Linked DNA regions of Homo sapiens: all the other regions are linked to region 1. The links are contacts of gene promoters, found by promoter capture Hi-C in blood cells and fetal thymus (Javierre and others, 2016). All regions are on one chromosome and are shown on one strand. Each heading gives the region's core, a stretch centred on a gene start or on the middle of the fragment in contact. The rest is flanking DNA. Distances are from core to core; before and after follow the strand shown. Region 1 holds the start of COX18 (cytochrome c oxidase assembly factor COX18). Region 2 overlaps DCK (deoxycytidine kinase). Region 3 overlaps GRSF1 (G-rich RNA sequence binding factor 1). Region 4 overlaps MOB1B (MOB kinase activator 1B). Region 5 overlaps MOB1B (MOB kinase activator 1B).

The links. Contacts are between HindIII fragments. The CHiCAGO score rates a contact against its expected background, and 5 or more counts as called.
Region 2: a contact is called between a fragment that was not itself captured here and the fragment with the promoter of COX18 in region 1, in 1 of 17 cell types (total CD8 T cells). The highest score is 6.2, in total CD8 T cells.
Region 3: a fragment that was not itself captured here is called in contact with the fragment with the promoter of COX18 in region 1 in 4 of 17 cell types (total CD8 T cells, non-activated CD4 T cells, activated CD4 T cells and 1 more); the score reaches 11.1 in total CD8 T cells.
Region 4: a fragment that was not itself captured here is called in contact with the fragment with the promoter of COX18 in region 1 in 1 of 17 cell types (total CD4 T cells); the score reaches 6.7 in total CD4 T cells.
Region 5: a contact is called between a fragment that was not itself captured here and the fragment with the promoter of COX18 in region 1, in 2 of 17 cell types (activated CD4 T cells and fetal thymus). The highest score is 6.1, in activated CD4 T cells.

What each region holds. Positions count from the first base shown.
Region 1 is chr4:73,068,289-73,070,988 of GRCh38, reverse strand. It overlaps COX18 (cytochrome c oxidase assembly factor COX18), which reads left to right and starts at 1,273. Exons shown (of 6, transcript NM_001297732.2): 1 at 1,273-1,672. The coding sequence starts at 1,340. LOC112268467 (a long non-coding RNA gene) reads right to left here and starts at 1,043. Exons shown (of 2, transcript XR_002959797.2): 1 at 960-1,043. RefSeq lists enhancers at 922-1,438, 985-1,504, 1,439-1,954. The HindIII fragment of the contact is 3,732 bases long and covers 531-2,700 here.
Region 2 is chr4:71,025,936-71,028,635 of GRCh38, reverse strand. It overlaps DCK (deoxycytidine kinase), which reads right to left. Exons shown (of 7, transcript NM_000788.3): 6 at 1,881-1,971. Among named protein-coding and RNA genes, the nearest start is that of DCK, 34 kb to the right of the region's middle. The HindIII fragment of the contact is 885 bases long and covers 912-1,796 here.
Region 3 is chr4:70,834,512-70,837,211 of GRCh38, reverse strand. GRSF1 (G-rich RNA sequence binding factor 1) reads left to right here. Exons shown (of 10, transcript NM_002092.4): 2 at 898-1,054. Among named protein-coding and RNA genes, the nearest start is that of GRSF1, 4.0 kb to the left of the region's middle. The HindIII fragment of the contact is 4,947 bases long and covers 1-2,700 here.
Region 4 is chr4:70,986,915-70,989,614 of GRCh38, reverse strand. It overlaps MOB1B (MOB kinase activator 1B), which reads right to left. Exons shown (of 6, transcript NM_173468.4): 6 at 1,447-2,700. Among named protein-coding and RNA genes, the nearest start is that of DCK, 5.4 kb to the left of the region's middle. The HindIII fragment of the contact is 3,316 bases long and covers 1-2,700 here.
Region 5 is chr4:70,903,325-70,906,024 of GRCh38, reverse strand. The region is part of intron 1 of MOB1B (MOB kinase activator 1B); the gene reads right to left. Among named protein-coding and RNA genes, the nearest start is that of MOB1B, 2.3 kb to the right of the region's middle. The HindIII fragment of the contact is 855 bases long and covers 838-1,692 here.

The DNA of each region.
Region 1 (2,700 bases), core at 24-2,523:
TGTTCAGATTATGAACAGCTGAACAGTAGTCAGTAGCAACTGATGGCTTTTTTGTTAGCTTAATAAATGGATAAAGAAATAGATTGGTAGGTTTTTCTTTTAGAAAAAGTTTATATATAGTGTGTGTTGTGCTGTGTGTTTAAACACATTTAAAAATTCATGTATAGATTTATCAGTCAGTTTGGAAAGCAGATGAATTCCAGAATCCTGAGAAAGTTATCGTAGGGTACCCTTGGTTAGGTGCACAGTGAAGGGCAAACAATAGCTGGCGTTTGACATTACCCAACATTGTTGGAGGCTTCTTTTCCTAAGTAAGTAAATAAATAAATAAATAAAAATCAAGGTTTACTCCTCACAACATATTTTAGTCTGTAGTCTAGGGGTGACCCTTCGGTGAGGAAACTCCTCCACAACATTCCATTTTGTTGTTTCCAGGAACACAAAAGTTAAAACTATATAGTCCATGTAGATTCAACGTATTCCTTTAAACCAGAAGACAGCCAGTGCTGCTGTTCAGGCTCTTTAAAGCTTATATAGGATACAAGTAAACTCAAGGAATTCACCGTACTGCCAGTGATAGTTTCCCTTAAATAAAGAGATGATACTTTTACTATAAGATTTTTGCTGCTATTTATCATGGAAGACAAAACACCGAAGAAATTCAGTTTGCAGTTGGTGGTCCAAATACTAACTGGAACAGATGGGCCAATTAAATCTACAAGAGACTGAACTATCCCTCGTGCTTAACACTCAGAGTCAGCAAGAAACATGCGTCTCTCTACAAGCAGGTACTTTAGCAACGTGTGACTCTTGAGTATGATAATCTATCGTAATCGCTAACGGAAGCAATCAGGTGCACGTAAAGAGGTTGGGGATCAGCTTCTGGTCACAAAAAACCGAGCAAGGATAATTCCACTACAAATGACTATTAGCTTTAGTGAAAAAGAATGGTAAGTTACACGGTGTAGATGAACTTTACAAGGCGAGAGCTCCCTAAAGAACACCCAGCCTGGCGGAGGGCAGCAGGCTCCACCCATGTCTCTGCAGTTTTGGTCCGGCCTCGGACTAACTACACCCTAGCAGCGGGAAACTTTCGCGTGTGCGCAGTAGGCCTGTCCAGTGCCGCGTGGGAAAGGCGGGACTTTCCTATCTCTTGCGTCACATCCACTGCGACGCAAGACGTCACCGGCTTGACTGGGAAGGTCAATCGCGGCTGCAGGCAGGCGCGCATGCGCTTTATGCCCGCTGTTGCTGGCGCGTGCGCGTATCAGCCTTGGCTGGCCGGTGTATGTCCGCTGGATTGTGAGGCCCGGGATCTGGGCTCCGCCGTGGTGCAGAAATGCTGTGCCGGCTCGGCGGTCGGTGGCTGCGGCCGCTCCCTGCCCTGCAGCTTTGGGCTAGGGACCTGCCGCTTGCGCCGGTTCCTACGAGCGGCGCCAAGCGCCCCACTCTCCCAGTGTGGGCAGTGGCACCAGTCTCTGCAGTACATGCGAACGGCTGGTACGAGGCCCTGGCCGCGTCTTCGCCGGTGCGGGTTGCGGAGGAAGTACTGCTCGGCGTGCACGCCGCCACGGGCCTGCCCTGGTGGGGCAGCATTCTGCTCTCCACCGTGGCCTTACGGGGTGCTGTCACGCTGCCTTTGGCAGCCTACCAGCACTACATCCTGGCCAAGGTGAGGGGCGCCGAGCCGTGCGCGTACCCTGCGCTGCAACCCCTGCGGCGGAGGAAGGCCGACATTCACTCAGGGTTTTCGATCGCACGATGTTGCCTTCTGCAGTGCTTAGTGTTTAATCATCGTGACCATTTCATTGTGACCATTTTAGCGTTAAAAAAAATTGAACTAGCATTAGGTGTGTTAAATAAGATACTTTGTGACACGTGTACCTGTCATTTCTTTTGTCTTACTGGATTTGTGCTCCAAGCACAAGTGGTTACTATACTTGCTCTCGGGGAACGGAGACAAAGAAATCAGTCGCAGAAGAAATTGTGTTGGCGAAACCTACAAAATTTATGTCTTAAAAGTTTTAATAGCCAGTATGTCTGCAGTGTCTTTCGTCCCAAAGTATTCCAGCTGGTCTTTCTTATTAGGAAGAAACTACTAGACTAACAGTTTGCGAACTTGTTTCCTCTCCAGACCCGACTAAGACTGTGTCTGGTTGGTCGCAGTTACTTGACCTTTTAATGCTGAATCCTTTTTTCTGAGGAATCAGGCTAGCAGTACCTTCCTTGCCTACTTCACAGCGTTATCAGAGCAAGTCAGATAATACGGGTTAAAGTGCTTGATTATTCAAATGGGATATTTCAAAAATAGTGGCTTTCTTGTTTTCAGGTTGTGAGCATGGGGAAAAAAAACCGGAAACAAAACAGGAACGGAATCAGCAGCAACATTAAGGCAGTGAGCCATTTTACAGGAAGAATGAGCACAGGGCAGGAATAAATGCTATTTTTACTTTTGATTTGTGGCTATCACAGTGTATTAAAGGTTCTTAACAAACTGCTGTTTTCTCCGCTTACGTTACTAGGAAATGTAGAGATGGAACAGTAAAGCCCAGGGTGCAGTTCTTATCTAATATTTGTAACCCTGTGAAGTAGGTGCTGTTATATATTTTATATGTGAGGGAACATGATTTTAGAGGTTAAGTTACTTGCACAGGATCACATGGATAAGTATGCATTGTGAATTTGGTTGTGACTGAGGAC
Region 2 (2,700 bases), core at 105-2,604, 2.0 Mb after region 1:
CGACGGAGCAAGACTGTCTCGAGAAAAAAAAGAAATATTGTTAAATACTTCAGTAGTAAAAGATGAATGACCTAAAAGGTCATTTTAGGAGTTATTTATTGCTCTGTCACCCAGGCTGAGTACAGTGGTGCAATCAAAGCTCACTGCAGCCTTGAACTCCTGGCTAGGTGCACACCATCATGTCTGGCTAGTTTTTGTTTGTTTTTTATAGAGATGAGGTCTCACTATGTTGCCCAAGCTGGTCAGGAACTCCTGGGCTCAAGCAGTCTTCCCACCTCAGCCTCCCAAAGTGCTGGGATTACAGGTGTGAGCCACTGCATCTATCAATCTAAGATAGATATAGTTCTAAAATAGCTGTAACACCAATTTTATAATCTCTTCATTTAAATATCATAGACCACTGACATATGCAGCTTTAACACTGATAACATTAATAAGCACAATAGTTCAAGCAACTTTGAAAATCAAACATGTAGTAGATTTGTCATGTTTCTGAAGCACATATGTGAATCACATACTTTGCAATGTCAGTGTGTGCAGAAAATCATGTAAGGAGTCAATGAACCTAGCCTACTGACCATAATGTAAGAATATGCTTGTTCTCTACATATTCTAGGCTACTCAATAATTCTCAAGAAACAAAAATTATTGCCTTGTAAAAATACCTTAATAAGAAAGTCAACTGCTAGCATTATTAATAAAAGTAAATATAATAATGTGAAATGATTCTTAGTCAAAACAAAGAAGTGTTAGATAAAATTAAAAAGTGATTTACAAAGTCAGTTAAATTGATGGTTGGCTGTTAATACTTAATGCTGACTTTTCATTTAATAGTATTGTAAGTGAATTTATCCTATATTTTTAACATCATTAGTAGTATGAAGAGGTCATTGGAATTTTCCAGATAAGCTTTAGTTCATACCATGGGAAAAACAACTACATGTATACGCTACAGTAGTTACATAAAATGTCAAGATTTTCAAAATCCTTGATATATCCCTTATGAATGTCAAGTCTCTATTAAACAGCAGACATTATGCCACAAAAGAAAGGAAAAATCAAATTTTTCTCAAAACTAAACCAAATTGTGCTTTCTTCTTTATAGCTTAATCACTCAGTTATCAACATGGGTATAGGGATATTTGTTATACCAATTCCCTTACTATTCTCTCTCAAATATTCATCAATAAATTCTCACCCATTCCCTTTATCAATATGGGCACCACTCACTTAACAGAATATAGTCAACTCCCAGTGATTTGGGCAATAAATGAACTGTGATTAAGACAATGACTCAATGATTAAGTAATGTCAATTAATCCTTGACATGATCCCAAATGAAACTCAAAACTAAAATCCCTTAATCTCAAGACTTTGGCCAACATAAAAATAGATGAGATCCATATCCTGTAACTTTAAATATCCTCCATATTGAATTTAGTTGAAAAAGATAAATTTAATTTCACAAGCAGTTTATTATTAAAGTATCTAAAGATTGGTGGTGTAGGGAAGAGAGGAAGAAATGGGGACAAAGCAGAGAAAAAGGGGGTGAGAAAGAATTTTTGTTATTATAATTTTACCTATCCTACAGATAGAGGCACTAAAGGATAAAAAAAAATCCTTATTTTATTTTTATTTATTTAATTTTTTTCTAAGATCTGTCAGATTCTGAGATTCCGAAGGATCTTTATTTTAGCTCAGGCCACAAAGCTAGAATTTAGTCAGGACTGGAATCTTAAACAGTCCAAAATCTTCTAAAGCTCTTAACTGTTTCTTAATGTAACTTTATGGAAGCTTTTCTGTTAGAAAATTGTTTTCTCACCACTCAGTACACTTTTTTAGAAAAAACAAATATTTGTTTGTAGTCTGTCTAAATCTACCTTTTCAACCAGACTTTCATATTTGTCTTTAAAGTCTTCATTAACATCCAGTGTTAAGATAGGCACCTCTTGAAGATAATCGAAGTTGGTTCTGTTTAAAAAGAGAGATTAATAAAATAATCAGAAATTCAACAAAAAAAAGAGAGAAACATTAAAAATTCATTCGTATGTCCTTGGAAAATCAAAATGTTGTCAATCATTTACACTAAAGTTACTTTGCAGTACTTCATCTGGCAGCCCCTTCTTTCTCATCTAGATTTACCATATGGAGCCCAAAAACTTAGGTACAAAATATATACAGCTGGGTACTGTAACATATGATTCTCTTCAAAAACAAATAGCAGTCAATAAAGTAGGAATTTCTGCATTTTTAAAGATGAGAAAACTAAAGCTCAGAATTGTCATTCTGAAGCTCAGAGGCTATCCAAGGTCACACACCAGTAAGACTGGACTTGAGCCAAGATCTGACTAATAACAAAGTCTATCCTCTCAACAACCACGCTATACAATCTCCCAAGTCAAAATTCTTTCTGAAAGAGTACCTAAATAATGTTCAGATATATTCCTACTTTATCACTTAAAGTGAAATTTCACATATTACGCTATCAATACCACCAAGGGATACTAGTTATAAAAACTTTAAGTAAATAGGATCTCATTGCAATCAAGAGAATGAAAATCTATACCTAGTTCTGGAAGATACCAATAAGCAAAACGACTGGAAATTTTACATATTGCTAGTCATATCTTCCAAATTTTAGATTAAAATTTAACAAAGGTAACAAAGGTATTTAAAATGAATAGTAAATAAAAATAAGTC
Region 3 (2,700 bases), core at 4-2,503, 2.2 Mb after region 1:
TAAATTCCAGTTTTACTTAATCCGATAAAAGAGACTTTACAAGTCTGTAGCCTCACACTGCTGCCGTTGTCTTTAAGATCTTTCCCTTAATCACTTGGTCTGGCATACCAGCTGACAGAGGAATATTCCCAAGGCGTCCTGCTGTCTTGTTGATTTACCCAGTCCTCAGTGTCTTGTATTAACTTATCTTTGCCTACCAAGTGAAGGACACACATTGAGCTCCACACTCAAGGCCCTCTGCTCTATGGTACCAACCTCTTTTGCCAGGTCACCTTCTTTGGCTCCTAATTTAAACAGTTGGAATTAATTGCTGTTATTCAAATGGGCATTTGGTCGTACTGCTTCTTTCTCTCGCCTTCAAACTGGAATACCCTATCTTTTATATCCTCATAAAAATTCTATCCTTCCTTCAAGGCCCATCTCATGTCACATCCTGATTCATCTGTTAGTGCTCTGATTTGAATTCCTGTAGTATTTTGTATCTTAATTATAGCACTCAGTATCTCATCTTGTATGCTTATCGTATTCTAGATAGCTATTTCAGATGAGGGCGGCAAACACTGTGTGTAGGGGCAATCAAATATTTGTCAAATTGTCAGGACCTTTCTTGTGTTGCCTTAACTACACTATTGTTAGCTATAATTTGGGGTTGATGAATTTTAAAACAAACCCTGAATGAAATTTGTGTCCTGCCAAACCTTTAGGATATACCTGCTTATGGCTTTTGGATGTACAATTTAAGCCAAAACAGGATGGGTTACATTGGTGAAGTTTACTTTTTGCTTCTGAAATAACATCTAGAATGTTAGTTTGTAGAATAAACATTTTCTAAGAATTTTTTTACATTTTTTACCTGTAAATGCAACTCTTTTTACAATTCTTCATTTCCTTTGGAAGGAGTCCAAAACTACTTACCTGGAAGACCTTCCACCACCCCCTGAGTATGAATTGGCCCCGTCCAAGTTAGAAGAGGAAGTGGATGATGTCTTTCTCATTCGAGCTCAAGGACTGCCCTGGTCATGCACTATGGAAGATGTGCTTAACTTTTTTTCAGGTATATTTTATGTATGTTTTATTTATTTATTTTTTTTCCTTATATTGTTTCTCACAAGCAGGTATGTATGTTTTAAGTATGTAATTTTGTCTGAGTAAAAGGTAGTGCTACAAATCCATGTCAGACTACGCTGTCACCTTCCTTTTTGATGGTTGGGAACTGTCTCATTCTGGTTGGTTGCATATACCAAATGATACCATGTGTGCTGTTTGCGGTATGTAACGAATTGAAAGACTTTGGGCCAGGGGCAGTGGCTCAGGCCTGTAATCAGCAGTTTGGGAGGCCAAGGTGGAAGGATGGCTTGAGGCCAGTAGTTCCATACCACACTGGGCAACACTGTGAGACTGTCTCAATTTACATATGTATAAAGACTTTGAATGCAACAAAAGTATTTTAACGTTAAGACTGCATAGTATGGGCCAGGCGCAGTGGCTCACGCCTGTAATCCCAGCACTTTGGGAGGCCGAGGCGGGCGGATCACAAGCTCAGGAGATCGAGACCATCCTGGCTAACATAGTGAAACCCCGTCTCTACTAAAAATACAAAAATTACCCAGGCTTGTAGTCCCAGCTACTTGGGAGGCTGAGGCAGGAGAATGGTGTGAATCCGGGAGGTGGAGCTTGCAGTGAGCCGAGATGGTGCCACTGCATTCCAGCCTGGGCGACAGAGTGAGACTCTGTCTCAAAAAAAAAAAAAAATCCATCATACTATGTAGGTTTTTTTTTTTTTGAGACGGAGTCTCGCTCTGTCGCCAGGCTGGAGTGCAGTGGCATGATCTCAGCTCACTGCAAGCTCCGCCTCCCGGGTTCACACCATTCTCCTGCCTCAGCCTCCCTAGTAGCGACTGCCACCACACCCAGTTAATTTTTTGTATTTTTAGTAGAGCTGGGGTTTCACCGTGTTAGCCAGGATGATCTCAATCTCCTGACCTTGTGATCTGCCTGCCTCGGCTTCCCACAGTGCTGGGATTACAGGCGTGAGCCACCGTGCCCGGCTGGTATGATGGAATACTACGTAGCCATAACAAAGAGTGAGATTATGTGCTTTGCAGCAATGTGGGTGGTGCTGGAGACCATTATCCTAAGCAAACTAACATGGAACATTAAACTTAATACTGTATGTTTTCACTTACAAGTGGGAGCTAAACAATGAGAACACATGGACACAAAGAGGGGAACAAGAAGACACCAGGGCCAACTTGAGGGTTGGGGAGAAGATTAAAAAATACCTATCGGGTCCAAGTGCGGTGGCTCACGCCTGTAATCCCAGCACTTTGGGAGGCCGAGGCGGGCGGATCACGAGGTCAGGAGATCGAGACCATCCTGGCTAACATGTTGAAACCCCATCTCTCCTAAAAATACAAAAAAAATTAGCCGGGCGTGGTGGCACGCTCCCGTAGTCCCAGCTACCTGGGAGGCTGAGGCAGGAGAATCGCTTGAATCTGGGAGGCGGAGGTTGCAGTGAGCTGAGTTCACACCACTGTACTCCAGCCGTGGTGACAGAGAGAGACTCTGTCTCAAAAAGAAAAATAAAACCTATTGGGTACTGTGCTTGCTACCTGGGTAACTAAATTATCTGTATACCGAACTCCCATAACACATGGTTTACCTATGTAGCAGTCCTATACATGTACTAAATAAAAGTTG
Region 4 (2,700 bases), core at 121-2,620, 2.1 Mb after region 1:
ATGGTTGTTTAAACCTTAGAGGAATAATTAATTAGAATCTTTGTGTTGCAAAATGCTCATTGCAGATGTTATATAAGGGATTAACAACTTATAATACATTTAGTACAACAGAGGTAAATGAACCTAATTATCAAAATGTAGGTAATTTTACAATATATATTTCTTTACACACAATAAATGAATAACAGAGTGTTTTTATTTTTTTATTTTTTGAGACGGAGTCTTGCTCTGTCGCCCAGGCTGGAGTGCAGTGGCACAGTCCGCCTCTCGGATTCAAGCAATTCTCCTGCCTCAGCCTCCCGAGTAACTGGGACAACAGGCAAGCGCCACCGTGCCCGGCTAATTTTTTAATGTATTTTTTAGTAGAGATGGGGTTTCCCCACATTGGCCAGGCAGGTCTCAACTCCTGAGCTCGTGATCCGCCCACCTCGGCCTCCCTAAGTGCTGGGATTACAGGCGTGAGCCACCGCGCCCGGCCCACAGGGCGTTTTTAAAGCATGCAGACACAGTCCACAACAGCATTGGCTAGCATTTCAACTAGTCTTTCTCCCAAATACCATTAGTGACTTTGAGCAACTGTGGCTACTACCATTAAATATTCTTAACCTGAAGATTCAAACACAAATGCCTCTAACATAAATACTTCTGATACTCTGAGAAGACTTCTAAAATACACGTTTTGGCCAGGCGCGATGGCTCACGCCTATAATCCCAGCACTTTGGGAAGCCAAAGCTCATGGGTCACCTTAGGTCAGGAGTTTTGAGACCAGCCTGGCCAACATGGTGAAACCCTGTCTCTACTAAAAATACAAAAAATTAGCCGGACATAGTGGCATATGCCTGTAATCCCAGCTACTTGGGAGGCTGAGGCAGGAGAATCACTTGAACCCAGGAGGTGGAAGTTGCAGTGAGCTGAGGTCGTGCCATTGCACTCCAGCCTGGGCAACAGAGCAAGACTCCGTCTCATAAATAAAATAAAATAAAATACACATTTCCTTTTGGAACTTGGTAAATGATTCTCCAATATTATTAATATTCCTTAATGATCTGTAATGAAGACAAAATATTAAATAATAGCTTGGTGAAGAGGTCAACAAATGATTATTACTGTGCTAACTGTTCTCACTGTAATAGTATATATTATAGAAAACATACACCTGCATACTGCAGAATAAAGAAAAAAGTGAAAAAAGTAAAACAGAAACACTGGTTTCAAGTTCAGACACAGTAGGGTTTTAAAACCGTAATCCAAATCAGTGACTTGTACAATTTCTGAGCTTTAGTTTTCTAAGATGTTAAGACACTGGTTGTTGTGAACATTACAGAAAATAGTGCCTAACAAATTTTAAATGTTCAACATATTCCATATGCCATCAATATTTCCCTTGGAATGTGTTTAGTGTGGGAATGCCTATAGCAAAAATAAACAGTAATGCAAAGTCAGGATTCATGGCCAAACGTAACTATTTATTCATTTTTTTCTTATAAACATTGAGTTTCTTCTTTAAAAAAAAAAAAACACCTAGAATTTAAATATTTCCCATCCCATCACATACAAGTCTGTATACATTATTTACATCTTTTGAATAAAACATATTACAGATTTTCTGACATCAGTATCCCTTTTTAAACAAAAATGAAGCAATTAAACTTTGATCAGTAACAACTACAATTTGCATAATCCGGCACAGTTTGTAATATAGCGCCTATGTTGGATTTCATAACTTAGATGATTTTTCCCCTTCTAGTTACTTGATTATAAGAGAGAAACTGTCTCCATGAGAGTAGTTCCCTGTCTTTATGCACTCTTCTCAATACTTGCACAGTGTAAATGCCGCCCTTATTCTTCCATTACTTGGCACTGACAATATTCCTCTGCTTTTGTCTTCAGAAATGATTTCTATTTGAACTTTAAGTGTTCTCATATATACTGTATTCTCCTTCAACCCAGATTTCATGACACTGTTCCTAGTGTTAATTCTATGCAGTAAAAGTTAAACCTATAGGAAAAGTTCAAATAAAACATCAAGTAAGTGTTTCCTACAAGATTAGTGCCCTCACCACCCTGGTTATGCATGTACAATAATAAATACAAGTTAGTAGCTCCAAAAAAACTACTTTCCCTAAAAAGTCATTTCTGTCGAACAATTTAAGGAGCAAAGCATCCTTAAAATGAAAATGCACTAATCTTTTTTACAACCTGCACAATTAAGTATTTCAGAAAAACAAAAACTTGTGCAAAATGGTAAGAAACGCCCACCTATACAAATTTAATATTAAATCAGATGAGAACATGAATTTATAAGTAAAAAACAATTTAATATTAATAATATATAGAGAAATTAAATATTGAAATTTTAACTTTGTATCACTAATAATCTCAGCTTCAGTGAAATAATTTAAAAAAAGCTGTCAAACACTAATTTCCTAAATAAACTGAAACCTATGAATTGACAGTAAATACTTCAGAATCTCTAACAATGAAGACCTGCAAAATCAGCCTAATTATTTTCCAGTGTGTGTGTACACGCACAGTGGAAAAACATACAGCTGGAAAAAGCCAGTGATTTTACTATCTACCTTTGAGAACTATAGCCCATATTTTTCAATTATTTAGTTCTATATGCAGAAAAAGTTATTACATTTGCAAAACTCATTTTTGTATTTTCTCTCTTTTGTCAAAATGTGAATCAGTTCAGC
Region 5 (2,700 bases), core at 16-2,515, 2.2 Mb after region 1:
TCTCACCACAGCCTTGAAGTATTTAATTTCCTCAGGCTCAGATGACCCTTCCACCTCAGCCCCCAGAGTAGCTGGGACTACAGGCTCACACCACCACACCTGGCTAATTTTTGTATTTTTAGGGGTAGAAAGAGAGTTTCGCCATGTTGTCCAGGTTGGTGTGGAACTCTGGGGTCAAGTGATCCACTCACCTCAGCCTCCCAAAGTGTTGGAATTACAAGCAGGAGCCACTGTGCCCGGCCCACAGTGCATCTTTTAAAAATCAGTAGTAGTTCTTTCCTTCTATCTTAGAGCCCTCAAGAGTCATGAGTCACCACCTTTGCAGCCCCATCTTGCATTGCCCTTATTTCCTCTGCTCCATCCACTGATCGTAGGCTTCCCAGTAAGCTTCCAAGAACGGGAGGAAAATATTTGTATTTAACTCCTAAGCTGTAACGCTTTCCTTCTCTGCTCATCTGTTGGTACAGAAATAGTATTCAGATAGCCAGGTGTAATGGCTCACACCTGTAACCTCAGCATCTTGGAAGGCAAAGATGAGTGGATTGTTTGAGCCCAGGAGACCAGCCTGGGCAACATGGCAAAACCCTGACTCTACCGAAAAAAAAAAAATTAGCTAGGCATAGTGGAGCATACCTGTAGTACCAGCTACTTGTAGCGGGGAGGGGGTTTGAGATGAAAGGATCACCTGAGCCTGGGAAGTCAAAGCTACAGTTAGCTGTGGTCATGCCACTGCACTCCATCCTGGTCGACAGAGTGAGATCCTGTCTCCAAAAAAAAAAAAAGAAACAGTATTCAGACAGTTATACCAAATAACAAATAGAAGAAATAACCAAAGCTTTGTTCTTTCACTTCCAATAATAATCATTTCCATGTGGTGTTCACTTTGGATTTTTAATTGACGGTAGACAAAGACCAAAACTGAAAATGTTGAATTAACTTTTCTGATTGTCAAGCACATGGGCTAAATATGTTGAGAATATATCAACTGCTAGATAGATATAACCTAACTGAAAAATTGTGCCCCAAATAGTGCAAATGCTCTAAAGTTCTATATACATTAGTTACAGCAAGATTTCTTTTGTAGTTACTAACCTTCAGGAGAAACAAACTAATCCACCACAAATCTGAATCTATTAAATACTGAGCCATGTAAAAATAGGATTCTACTGTATTTGTATTCAAAAAATAGCATCAGAAACTTCTCCATCCCCTAGTTTCAGCCAAATATGGCTCTTCCCTGCTTTAACCTTTTTTTTTTTTTTTTTTGAGACAGAGTCTCACTCTGCCACCCAGGCTGGAGTGCAGTGGCGCGATCTCGTCTCACTTCAACCTCTACCTCCCGGGTTCAAGTGATACTCCCGTCTCAGCCTCCCAAGTAGCTGGGACTACAGGTGCGTGCCACCTTGCCCAGCTAATTTTTGTATTTTTAGTAGAGACGGGGTTTCACCATATTGGCCAGGCTGATCTCGAACTCCTGACCTGGTGATCTGCCTGTCTTGGCCTCCCAAAGTGCTGGGATTACAGGCATGAGCCACCGCGACTGGCCTTGCTTTAACCAATTTAGCTTACTAGACACAAGCCCATCAGCAGTAGTCATGGATATCATCTACAGTGCTATTTTGAATACAGCTTCTAAATTCTTGAAAACAATCAAACATTAGCAATGTAAAATTAAGCTCAAGATGAGAAGCTTCAAGTTGAGATACCTGAATATGGTGATTAGAACTAAAACAAGAAACTGCCCAGGCACGGTGGGCTCACGTCTGTAATCCCAGCACTTTGGGAGATCAAGGCAGGCAGATCACTTGAAATCAGGAGTTCGAGACCAGCCTGGCCAACATGGTGAAACCCCCATCTCTATTAAAAATACAAAAATTAGCCAGGCGTGGTGGCGCGGGCCTGTAGTCCCAGCTACTCAGGAGGCTGAGGCAGGAGAATCGCTTGAACCCGGGAGGCAGAGGTTGCAGTGAGCCGAGATCACGCCACTACACACTCCAGCCTGGTGACAGAGCGGAGACTCCGTCTCAAAAAAAAAAAAAAAAAAAAAAAAGAACTAAAATAAGAAACAAGGACTTTTTTATAAAATCACCCAGTCCTGTCATCTAGCCCTATGCCAATCCGACAAACTCAGAATCAACTTCTAGGAGGAGCCTAAGAAATCCCTTTCCGTTTAAAGGTTTTAGGCAAGTTGACACAAGCCAGGTCCCCTATGCATATTGGAAATATCAAGTCTGCCCCTAGGTCAGCCTTGTTCAGTTTTGCTTAAACACCCTAAAAAAAAAAATTCTAGATGTGAGCATGTGAAAATAAGAGTGAATTAAATTCTCAGTATTCAGACGTCAATGTAATGACTAAAAATTATTAGGCAAGGAAAGAAGAGAAATCTTAAGAAAATATCCTTTAAATGCTAATTTCTCCACAACAGTAAAACAGTATATGGGTGAGTTTCAACTTCTAAGTTTTTTATTAGTTTTCTAAACACAGACTAAACATGGAATGAGTGCATCACAACGAAGCCTTCAAAGGAGTTATTCCTCAGGCTGTAACCCCTGTTTTCAGAGGACCTGAGGCTTATCTACTGCCTCCATATCCACATCTGGCCATCCCATCCTTCTGCCCTTCCCCCTCCACGTTCCCCTCCACTCGTCTGGAACAAACGATAAGTAAGTGAAATAATGACCAGCACTAAACATGACGCCA